Regions from separate parts of the Homo sapiens genome. Here region 2 is linked to region 1. The links are contacts of gene promoters, found by promoter capture Hi-C in blood cells and fetal thymus (Javierre and others, 2016). All regions are on one chromosome and are shown on one strand. The core of a region is centred on a gene start or on the middle of the fragment in contact, and the rest is flanking DNA. Distances in the headings are between cores, read along the strand shown.

Evidence for each region. Contacts are between HindIII fragments. The CHiCAGO score rates a contact against its expected background, and 5 or more counts as called.
Region 2: a contact is called between a fragment that was not itself captured here and the fragment with the promoter of KPLCE in region 1, in 1 of 17 cell types (total CD4 T cells). The highest score is 5.0, in total CD4 T cells.

What each region holds. Positions count from the first base shown.
Region 1 is chr1:152,716,828-152,722,619 of GRCh38, forward strand. KPLCE (KPRP N-terminal and LCE C-terminal like protein) reads left to right here and starts at 2,695. Exons shown (of 1, transcript NM_001024679.3): 1 at 2,695-3,643. The coding sequence starts at 2,695. The coding sequence ends at 3,447. The HindIII fragment of the contact is 5,275 bases long and covers 242-5,516 here.
Region 2 is chr1:152,569,829-152,575,620 of GRCh38, forward strand. No RefSeq gene overlaps it. Among named protein-coding and RNA genes, the nearest start is that of LCE3E, 5.9 kb to the left of the region's middle. The HindIII fragment of the contact is 2,450 bases long and covers 1,160-3,609 here.

The DNA of each region.
Region 1 (5,792 bases), core at 1,445-3,944:
GCCAGGCATAGATAGACATACTGCATGATCTAATTTATATGTGGAATCTAGAAATGTTGATCTCATGGAAATAGAGAGCAGAGTGCTGGTTACGAGAGATTGGGGTGGCTGGTAGGTGGGGTTGGGGAGATATTTAAAGTATTCAGGGGAAGACTTCGCAGGACCTGGCTTGACATGGGAGAGGGGCTGTGAATTAGTGGGTCTTTGCATCCTCTTTGTTTAGGAAATGTAGAAGCCTTAAAGCTTATGGGTCCTGGGAAATGTGGGGATCTATTATGTACAAATACAGTAGAACAATTTACCTGAGAGGCCGTAGGGGCCACGGTGGAGCCTGCACTGGTTTATCTAAGGAATTGACATTTGGACCAGTGCTAGGCTTAGGCTCAAGACAACTTTCTTCAGTGGGCGACCCAATATAGCTCAGTGGGGGTAGCATGGGCTCTGGAGCTGGATAGGCTTGGGTTGCAATGTCACTCCATTACCTACTGATGGGATGACCTTGGAAAAGTGGACCTCTGGGTCTCAGTTTTCTCTTGTGTAAAATTGGGGCTAATGAAGCCTGTCTCATAGAGTTATTTCAAAATCAAATGAAATAACACAGGCAAAGAGCCTAGGACAGTATCCACCACATAGTAAGTGCTCAGTAGATAATATTCCCACCTCTCTTTCTACATCTTCTGCATTGTGGAAAAGAAAACAGGCAGGGATTCAAGGACAATGCCATGTTCAGAAATAAAAGGCAACATATTGTAGTAATAAAGATCATGATCTATGAAAGCAGACTCCTGCATCTGAGGCCTAGCTTCCTTACTTACCTGCTTTGTGATGAGGGTAACTCCCTTAAACTTTCAGGGCCTCAGTTGTGTCCATTTGTAAATGTACTGCCTCATGAATTGTTATATATAAAGTATTCAAATAAACTTTAGATTCTATTATTATTGTTGTTGTTGTTATCACACAGTGCTCATCTGGCTGGAATTTTCCCTGCTCAGCGTTCTTTGGAATTGAAGCCTGGTAGTGAGGTCCTGAAAGGTAAGAATGGGGGAGCCTAAGGGGCATGAGAAGGCTGAGGGGAGGCAGTCTAGACTCCAGCCTGGGGCCTAGGATCATTAAGCACCCACCCAGTTTCCAAATGAACCTAGAATAACCTGATGTTCCATGAAACAAACCATTTTTTGGAGGTCTTGTGTCATATTGGGCCAGAGACCACTGGGCCAAACTGTGCTCAGCAACCTAGACCAGCAGAAGTTACCTTGGAAGCCCACAGAACACTCATTTAGGCTGAGTGAAGTGAGGTGAATCTATAGTTAAATTCTCAATTTTTCATACACTGTGCCAAAAGCTACACTTAGCTTTAGATTAGATTCTCAATTTTAGTTTGATTCTCTGAGCTACACTTAGCTTTTGGCACAGTGTATGAAAAATTGAGAATCTAACTATAACTTGGATAAGTCCTGAAGACTCAAGTGACCTGGAAACAGCTTCATTAGAGACAGATCACATAGGCATCACTCATAACTTATAGGAAAAGGAGACTGACTTGTTTCCTGAGGAAGGGAACAGGAATCATTTATCTAGTGTTTGGGAAAACCCAATGTCAAGCACAGACATGCCCTGCCTCTGACTGAGGAGCCAGGCATACTGGGGAGGAATCTTGCCAATGCAACACCATCCCTTCTCCTTGTGATCTCTGGTGCTTCATTTAGATGCCATTAAATTGCCTCATTGCTGCCCTATAAAAGGTCTCCCCACCTGCTAGTTTTTCAGATCACTGACTTCTTCCAGTCTTGCTCCTATCAGCAAAGAGGGTAAGTCTCTATACGGGATAAGGACATGGTGAGAAACAGAGCTTTGGGGAAGCTGGGGTGGGATGAGAGCTGTGGGATGAAGGGTGAGCGAGGACTAGATGCTTAGGAAATCTGCTGAAGGAGGCTGAAAGCAATGCTGGTGGGAAACTTGGAGCCTGGGGCATGAGAGGAGAGGGAGGGGGACACGATGAGCTGGCATTCCTGTTTAAGAAGGGACTTTAGAGAACTGGCTCCCCATCCCCTTATCTGAATGCAATTGTGCAGTCCTCTCTTGGGTCTATGTGCTAATGAGGCCAACTGATTAGTCCAGCTGGTTCAAGGAGCACCTGGTAGAAACCTGCTCAAATTTAGCCTTGTTCTTTGCTCAGTACCGGGCACAGCTTGAGGCTCATGTTGGCTCAGGGTCCATGGACATAAATTTGTCTTTGCTGGGTATTCCTTGTCTGGGCAGAAGGAAGAAGGGAAGTCACCCTGGAGAGAACTGGTGGCAGGGGTCAATCATCTGGGAGCAGCAATTTCCAAAGGGTAATTCACAATGCAGACACTGAAGAAAGAGGAGAGGAGGCTTGGAGAGTTGGGTAGAAACACAGGCAGCACCATTTCAAGCCTCCATTTCCCAATATAGAGACTGAGGCCCAGAGGTAAGCGATGACTTGTACCAAGCCACATAGCCAGGTACAGGCACAGAAGCTGAGCTGAGAGTCCCTGGCTCTGAATCCACCTCCTGCCAAGTATACAGCCTCTGGATGTCTGCAACCTTCTCAAGAAAGCCTTGCTTGCAAATCACTGTATTCAAAGGGGATGTTGAAGGTTTCCCCTAGAAACCTTCCTGGTTTTACAGTTCTAATGAAACCTTTCTTTTCAGATTTTGCAAAGCCACAGAACAATGTGTGACCAGCAGAAGCAGCCACAGTTCCCTCCATCTTGTGTGAAAGGTTCGGGACTAGGGGCTGGGCAGGGTAGCAATGGTGCCTCTGTGAAATGCCCAGTTCCATGCCAGACCCAAACTGTCTGTGTGACAGGCCCTGCTCCATGCCCTACTCAAACTTATGTGAAGTACCAAGTTCCATGCCAGACTCAAACCTACGTGAAGTGCCCAGCTCCCTGCCAGAGGACCTATGTGAAATACCCAACACCCTGCCAAACCTATGTGAAGTGCCCAGCTCCCTGCCAGACAACCTATGTAAAATGCCCAACTCCCTGCCAAACCTACGTGAAGTGCCCAGCTCCCTGCCAGATGACCTACATCAAAAGTCCAGCTCCCTGCCAGACCCAGACGTGCTATGTCCAGGGTGCTTCTCCTTGCCAGAGCTATTATGTTCAAGCTCCTGCAAGTGGCTCAACCTCCCAGTACTGTGTCACTGACCCATGCTCTGCTCCCTGTTCCACCAGCTACTGCTGTCTGGCTCCCCGGACCTTCGGGGTGAGTCCCCTGAGACGCTGGATTCAGCGGCCCCAGAACTGCAACACAGGATCATCTGGCTGCTGTGAGAATTCGGGAAGCTCTGGATGCTGTGGTTCTGGGGGCTGTGGCTGCAGCTGTGGATGTGGCAGCTCTGGGTGCTGCTGTTTGGGAATTATCCCCATGAGGTCCCGAGGTCCTGCATGCTGTGACCATGAGGATGACTGCTGCTGCTAAACATACGACAGCTCAACTCCAGAATGCACTGCCCCGCTACCCCTTCTGGAACATGCACCAGCTTCTGGCCCCCTCTCTGTTAGTGCCAGTGATGTAGAACCTCATCACTTTGCCTCTGTGCTTTGCTTCTCTACCAAGGCAGCCTGCCAGAGTTAGTACAGTCCCCAAACTTTGGCATGAATAAAGCTCTGAATGCATTTCGTGGTAATTTCTGTCTGTTTGTTTGGTCCATATTTATGCTTTTCTATCAGGCACTCTTCTGCATCCCTCTCTTCTTACTCTTGTTTCTCAGCTAGAGGAAAGATCTGCACGAACATGAACAAGCAGACTGAGCTGGTGAAATCCCAGCCTGGGAGCCCCATGCCTTCTAGAATGCTGTGAATAAACTTTCCCACGCAAGTTAGAAGCATCTGAAAATGGAGATTTGAGGGTTGGGGCTGTTTCTGTGCTGCCCTTTGATGAGCCTCAGAGCAGGGTTGACCATGATGAGACCCTCATCTTCCTGGGTGTTGGAGAGATTGTGAAATTGTATCTGCTCATGGACCAGTATCACTGGTCATGGTCAGTATCACTGGACCATGTCTCCACCACTGTGCAGAGGGCTTGAACCCATGCAGGACTTTATGAATTACATTTTCTCATCTGACAGGCTTGCCCTGTTGAAACTATAGGTTGAAGGCCTGAGGGAAAAGGCTAGGAGCCCCCTGAAGTGGGTAGGTATTCACCAGGTCAGTCCTGGTAGTAAGTGAGCCATCTCCAAAGGAAGGTGAATCTTGTGCGAGGGGCTTCTGGGCCCCCTTCTGGGCCCCTCACCCTAGTTAGCTTTTTCTTCTCCATTGCTTAGCTAGCTCTAGAGAATTTGGGGTGGACTTTTGTAACTAAAGATTCCAAATACACACATTAAAAAAATAGAGGAGTAACAAGTGTTCAAAACAATCCCACAAGGTCTGGTGCATAGGAGACAATGTTTGGTGATGTATAAATGAACGCATAAAGGAATGAATGAAAAAGGGAATCATGTGTTTGTTTCTAACCCTGGACACTAGCAGAAGATCATCTTGACTACTCTGCTGCCTTTGAATGTCTAAACACCTGTATCTCCACAAACAGCACAATATCCCTTCATCCAAACTCCCTAAACTTACAGCCCAGTCACTGGAAACCCACTCAGGGAAGGAACTGCCTTGGCCAGGGCCACACTTTCCTCTTGTACCACCAACTGGGTCCTGCAATGTTGGAGGATGGGGTGCTAAAGTTCCCTGTGGTCTAGTCTCTTTAGAGAATGGTATCTGCAAAGCCCAACTCAGCACTGAAAATATTGTAGGGAATCCTCTTTAAAACCCAATGCAAACTTCTAAAAATCCTATTTCTATCCTTTTCAATTCCTTCATATTCCATAGCTGTTCATCAGTCTCTCACTAAACTACCCCAAATGCTCCTAATATCCAGACATTGTGGCTTCTTTCATCTCTTTCTCTCCTTGCTCACTCTCCTTTCCTCCTCAATCCCACCTGGTTCTGGTCCTGGTTATGTAGATGGTTTGAGTTTTTCTGTCTCCCTTGTTAATTTTCTCTATACTTACCCAATCTTAGTATTCTCTGCTCCATAGGAATTAACCTAGGAATAAAACCTCTCCTCTTTTCTCCAGCTGTTCTAATGCTTTCTCTAACCCACTCTATTGGTTTTGTACAAGAGAGAGGAAAGTAGTTGAAACCAAGAGCTAACCTGACGAAGCTCACCAAACTCAACCTGCCTTGCTTGCTTTTAGTCACTTACTTCTAGTTAATCTTAAAACCCATGTAGCTAAAAGTCACACAGCTAAGCAATCTGCTAGCTTCCTTTTAGAGAACATCCCTGACATATAAGTTACCATGCTGATGGTTCCTTGTTGTTTTTTTAAGAACTTGGTGTTGGCTGTTTTCTAGTTCAAGCTGAAACCACCGACCCTTCAACTGGGCCTGCAAGAATACCTGAGAGGTGACCTTTTGATGTCAGAGGGTCAAAAGCTCCTCCCTCAGAGCATGCTAATACCACCATTTTCTGAACATGCTTCTTATGAAGAGCAATGAAGCTTGACTATGCAAGTGCAAATAGCCACTTGCCTCACTGTTCCTTGCCTCCAACTGCCTTTCCCCAGGCCCTGAACTACCTTGCTCTTCTATCCCATAAATGTCTCTGAAACCATATCTTGGAAAGGTGGATTTGAGATCCGTTGGCTGCCGTGGCTTACAGTGCACAGGCAGCACACATCTAGTTCAGTATCAGAATTATAAAGCTCAAAGGGCAAAAATATAATTTTCTTTAATAGAGCATATGAGTGGAAGAAAAAGTCAAGGAGCAAAAAC
Region 2 (5,792 bases), core at 1,135-3,634, 150 kb before region 1:
AAATGATATAAAATCCTGGAAATCAAATTTCCCAACCCTCTCTGGGGTTTGTTGCTGTTTGTTTTCACTGTCCATTTGCTTCATGACTTTCCTGAACCAATTTTGTAAAATCTGTATTCTTTATTGTGTGTAGTCATTTAACTCTGTACTCAGTTAGCTTAGTAGACAGAGATTTCCTTAAATGCCTTGAGTTAATGTCTTTCAACCTTTGCTGAGGACCTCTGTGTGTATGTTGGGGCATGTTTTCAAGACTTCAGAAGACAGTTTACAAATCTGTCTTAGGTTTCATTTCCTGCTTGGATGGAACTTCAAGATCAGTCAAAGTTGAGATATTAGGGTCTTCCCAGGTCTTTTCTGTACATGCACACACCCTGTAAGTCCACATAGTCTCCTAGATTTCCAGAAATGTGTCATAGATTTTTAAAACTCTCTATGAGAATCTCATTCCTCAGATTTTCCATCTAAGTTTTTGGTCAACTTCTGATTTGCCCAACTATTATCACCATCACAGGCAGCTGTGATGCTAAACATTTTTTACTGATTGTTTTTGGCAAACACCCTGGGGTAAAAGCTGTTTTCAGTGAGAGAGTTCTGAGTCAACTGGAATGAAAACAAGCTTGGCTAGTTGGGATTTCTAGGGGAAATGGGAATGGGATCTTCATTATGTGCCATATAGTCAGATAATGACATTTCTCTAGGGATGGGGTTTTTGGATAGTTTCAGATATGTTCTGTTACCTCCATGTGCTACTAGCATTTTAGATTTCAAGACTATTATGGCACTGGGAACAGGGAGATGATAATAGGGCAAGTTAAAATGTCACAAAGCTCACTGCTCTTACCCATATTCAACTGCTTTTCTTAAGTGAACACTCTAATATTTTTGCAAGCCTTTGGTAAATCTCCAGAGTTTTGCAAAAGTTGATTTTCACAATTTTTCATTTTCAAGGTGTTTTTAATGGAAGAGCAGATTTTTGGAGATCCTTGCTCAATCATTCCCAACCTTGTCTTCTTAAGTGAAAACATGAGTCCCTAGTTTTTCATCTGGGTCACAAACTTCACATCCAATAAGCATTATTATTTTGAGATATACAGCTCTTCTCATCACCACAGAGATGCTTCCATATAATATCCAGGTCATATATGAGAAAGTAAGATTAAGCTTTTCCTGTTTTATTGAGATTTGACAAAAATAACTGCCAACTTGTAAACAATAGGCACAAATAACTCTCCACCTTATAAAGAGGTTGGAAGGAGCCCTGAGATGCTATCACTCTTCTCTTGTTATAGTAATGAGAAGTTTTCAAAACTGGATAGAATGCTGTGGATTTTCCCCTTACATTTCACATGGGGAAGCAACAGGTTATTACTCTTACCCTCCACTAGAGGAAAAGTCATAGAAATTTCAAGGGGACAAATTGTAGAACTTATCAATGCCTAAAAAACAGAAAGACTTGGCCAGTAGCGGTGGCTCATGCTTGTAATCTCAACACTTTGGGAGGTGAAGGTGGGTGGATCACTTGAGGTCAGGAGTTCAAGACCAGCCTTGCCAACGTGGTGAAACCCCATCTATACTAAAAATACAAAAATAGCTGGGTGTGTTGGCTGGTGCCTGTAATCCCAACTACCCAGGAGGCTGAGGCAGGAGAATCGCTTGAACCAGGGAGACGGAGTTTGCAGTGAGCTGAGATTGTGCCACTGCACTCCAGCCTGGGCGGCAGAGCAAGATTCCATCTCAAAACAAAACAAAACAAAACAATAAAACACACACACACACACACACACACACGCAAAACCCAGGAAGACTAAAATTTCAGGTCTCAGTGTCATCATTGGACTTGCTGAACAGTTCTCTGGCTATTCTGGAGAGTGAAAAATAATTGGAAAGGGAAAATGGAAAGGAGAATGGGGAAAAGAGAAGCAGCCAGTCCCTTACTGCTTGACATGGCCAGAGTTCATGAGTTTCCCTGAGCCAGTGGACAGTTTGGAGGGCAGCTAGGCATAGCTGTACTGCCACAGTCCTGCTGGGAATGTGGCTATCAAGGCAAGAGGCCTGTACCAATGGGGCTAAGAGTGCAGGGGAGTGTCAAAAGAGGCCAAATTTTTCACATCAGGTCACTGTGCTAAAGGTTCCTTAAAGAAATCAGTCATTTATCTGGTAAGAGAGCCCTCATGGGTCAGCACAGAGAGGATGCAGCCACTGAGAGACACTAGCAGTACCAGCCAAATATGAGATATTTGCTTTGTCCCCCCTTTTCTCATTCCGGCCTCAAAACAGTGCAGAATAAAGGGAACCCGCAGGGGAGAGGAGGAGGTGGACAATAAATGATGGAACTAACCATGTCTCTTTTCCACACACTAGATGCCTGTTTTCCACACAGTCCTTTAGGAGACAGTTGGGCTGTGCTGGGTTGGAGAGGGAGGAGTTAATATTCTTATTCTGAGTTATATCCAACTGGACAGGATAGGATGCTTCCTGAATACCTGAAAAATGATTAGAAAGGCCTGAAACACACTTGAGATATTATCAAAGTAGAGTCAGTATAACATAGTAGAAGACAGAGACTAGAGGAAAAATAAGTCACTATTTGTATCTGACACTGAGTTCAGACTACTTAATAAACTTCAGAGGCCCTTGGAAGATTTTCCTGCCAAGGATCTCTCTTGGTTCTTCCTCTCTTTCCAATATCAGTCAATAAATAAATCAATACTCAATTTCATAAATTGCATAATATTTTTTAAACTGCATTTAGGAAAACATTCCTTCTTGGAGCTAATTATCACTGTAAAATCAGGGCTTTGTGGTGAAAAATGTGAAAGACTTCAGATGTCAACAATGAAAAGTTTTGTCTCCAAACTCCATGTCACCCTCAAAACCTTCAGTTTCTGTGAGCTATCTTGGGTGGTCTGTGACATGATCTTTCTTTACTCTTGAGCTGGGCTCCAATTTTCAGTACAGGTCATGGTGGGCCTGGAGTGCTGAGGAATGGGTCAGACCTCCAATCATCCAGGGGGCTTTGAGTTGCTAAGAGTGGTGTAGGGAAGGCAGATAAAGTTGAAGAAAGTTTTGTTATTTCAGAAAGTCACATATAGAAAGAGGAGATGGGGGTCGGGGAGGTAGGGAGAAGATGGATGCCAGGAGATCAGGGAGGGTGGAATTTCTGGAGAGAAGAGAATCCTCTACCTCAGAAGTTCTCAGCTTTGGCTGCACATTGGCATCATCTTGGAGGGTTTTTTAAAAATACAAAACTCTGAGTTTCATCCCTCAAGACGCTGGTTGGCTTGGGCTAGGCATCAGGGTTTTAGTATCTCCCAGGTGATTCTGATGCACAGTCAGGTTTGAGAGGATCAGATCACATGAGGTGGAAGAGAAAGAATTGGAGGTTGGAGAATGAGATCACCTGTGGGCTTACGTGCATACGTACCTATTGTCCACAAAACAAACAAAAAATTCTTTGGCTACAGTACTAGTCTCTGGCTGGTCAGGAACTGGCTGATTTCTCTAGTCTCAACTTCTACTATCCTCTTCTACTTCTTTACCTGTCTTTGTCACACCAAGGGGTCTGAGGCTTCTCCCTGGGCCTGAGCTGGGGGGCACCTTAGTGACTGAAGCTTGGTGCTCAGGGAGTGTCTGTCTGAACACCTTGAGGAAAGAGGCAGATGTCTCAGGAAGTTCTAGTTCATAGACTCTCTGGACAGGATCTTGTTACCAGGTTCTATGTTGCTTGCTTATAGGCTGCAGGGTCCTGGTAGTAGGCGGGGGGGCGGGAGGTGTGGGGGAGGAAAGAGTAAGTTTTTCTAAGAGAAGGATCTGGGATGCCCCAAGACTGTCCGGGTACCTATTTCTTAAGTTTGTTTTTGGTGTGTTTTCTTCTCTTTCTCCCATCCTCTTTTGCTCTCCCCCTCTCTTTACATTCCTTCTTTACTTTCTTCTATTCTCTAAAAAATGAACAGATATTACACAGTGGGCATGGTGATAGATGTGCAATCCATTGGATGGTGGACACACCTAATTATAAATAAATGAGATGTGGTTCTGGTTGAGTAGCTCACCTTGTAGCAGGGCAGACAGACAGGTGATCAAATGACTATGACCCAAGATGATGAAAGCTACATAAAACATGTGTTGAGTCCTGAGGCTTATGCAAGAGCTTTTGGCTATCAGTCTCCTGTCTCCTCAGTGTGCCCAGAGGTTGTCATTTGGTATCACTTGAGAGTAGTTGAGGTGAGGTCAGCAGCCTATAGGAGCTGATGATGGGCATGGAGCAGGAACAAAGGGATAAGGAGTCTGACCTCCCCTTGCAGTTTATGGTCAGAGAGACACAGAGAAACTCATGAAACCTAGGAGGCAGAGGTGTCCCTGCAGAGAGAAGGGGGATGGACAAAATTCCTGTCTGAGGACAGAATGTGGTGGATAGAAGCGGCCAGAATAATAGGTTCATTAAGAACATAGGTTGGGGAGTCAGATATTTCAGGCTTTGTTTTCTTATTTCTTCAGGTGATAGTTGTCATAAGGTAAAGGTGTTTGAAGAGAGAAAAAACTACAATGGAATGAAAGCACAGTGGACCACGGATGTTAGAGCTGCAACCAGAGATGGAGATAAGAAACTAACCTACATCTGATGAACGATGTGTCAGTAAGCCACTCACTTTGTAAGTTTCTGAGTTGCAGACATGGGTCAGAGAAGAAGGTGATTCACCCAGGCTGGGATATTCAGGGAGAATTTATCTGAAAGGTAATTATAATTAATTGAAGGTGAATAATTATAGATACATTTTGTAGTGTTATTATGTATACCTGATGTAATGCAATTGATGTGTGACTAATGCCTGTAAAAACTGCATTTGAATCAGCTCTGTAGAATTTTCCTATTGCATTTTATTATAACAATAAAGACGCATTTTCTTCTGAAATATAAGCATACTCAAGAATAAGACAAATCTTTTATATCACACAGGTAATTAACAATATGTATTTTTTTCAGACAAATACACCAGTGGTTCAGAATAGAAAGCCAAAAAATAAGGCCACACACCTACAACCATCTGGTATTCAACAAAGCTGACAAAAACAAGCAATGGAGAAAAGACTCCTAGTCAATACATGGTGCTAGGATAACTGGTCAGCCATATGCAGAAGATTGAAACTAGACTCCTTCCTTACACCATATACAAAAATCAACTTAAGATGGATCAAAGACTTAAATGTAAAACCCAAAATTATAAAAACCCTGGAAGACGACTGAGGCAATACCATTCCAGACATAGAAATGGACAAAGATTTTATGACAAAGACACCAAAATCAATTGCAAAAATGACAAATGGGATCTAATTAAACTAAAGAGCTTCTGCACAGCAAAATAAACTATCAATACAGTAAACAGACAACCTACAGGATGGGAGAAAATCTTTGCAAACTATGCATCTGACAAAAATCTAATAATATCCAGCATCTATAAGGAACTTAAGCAAATCTACAAGAAAAAAAACAAACAAACAACCCAATTAAAAAGCAAGCAAAGGACATGAACAGACACTTTTCAAAAGAAGAGGTGCATGCAGTCAATAAGCATATTTTTAAAAAGCCCAACATCCCACTGATCATTAGAGAAATTCATATCAAAACCGCAGTAAGGTATCATCTCAAACCAGTCAGAATGGCTGTCATTAAAAAGTCAAAAAATAGCAGGTGTTGTAAGGTTGCAGAGGAAAAGGAATGCTTATACATTGTTGACGTGAGTGTAAATTAGTTCAACTGCTGTTGGAGACAGTGTGGCTATTCCTAAAAGACC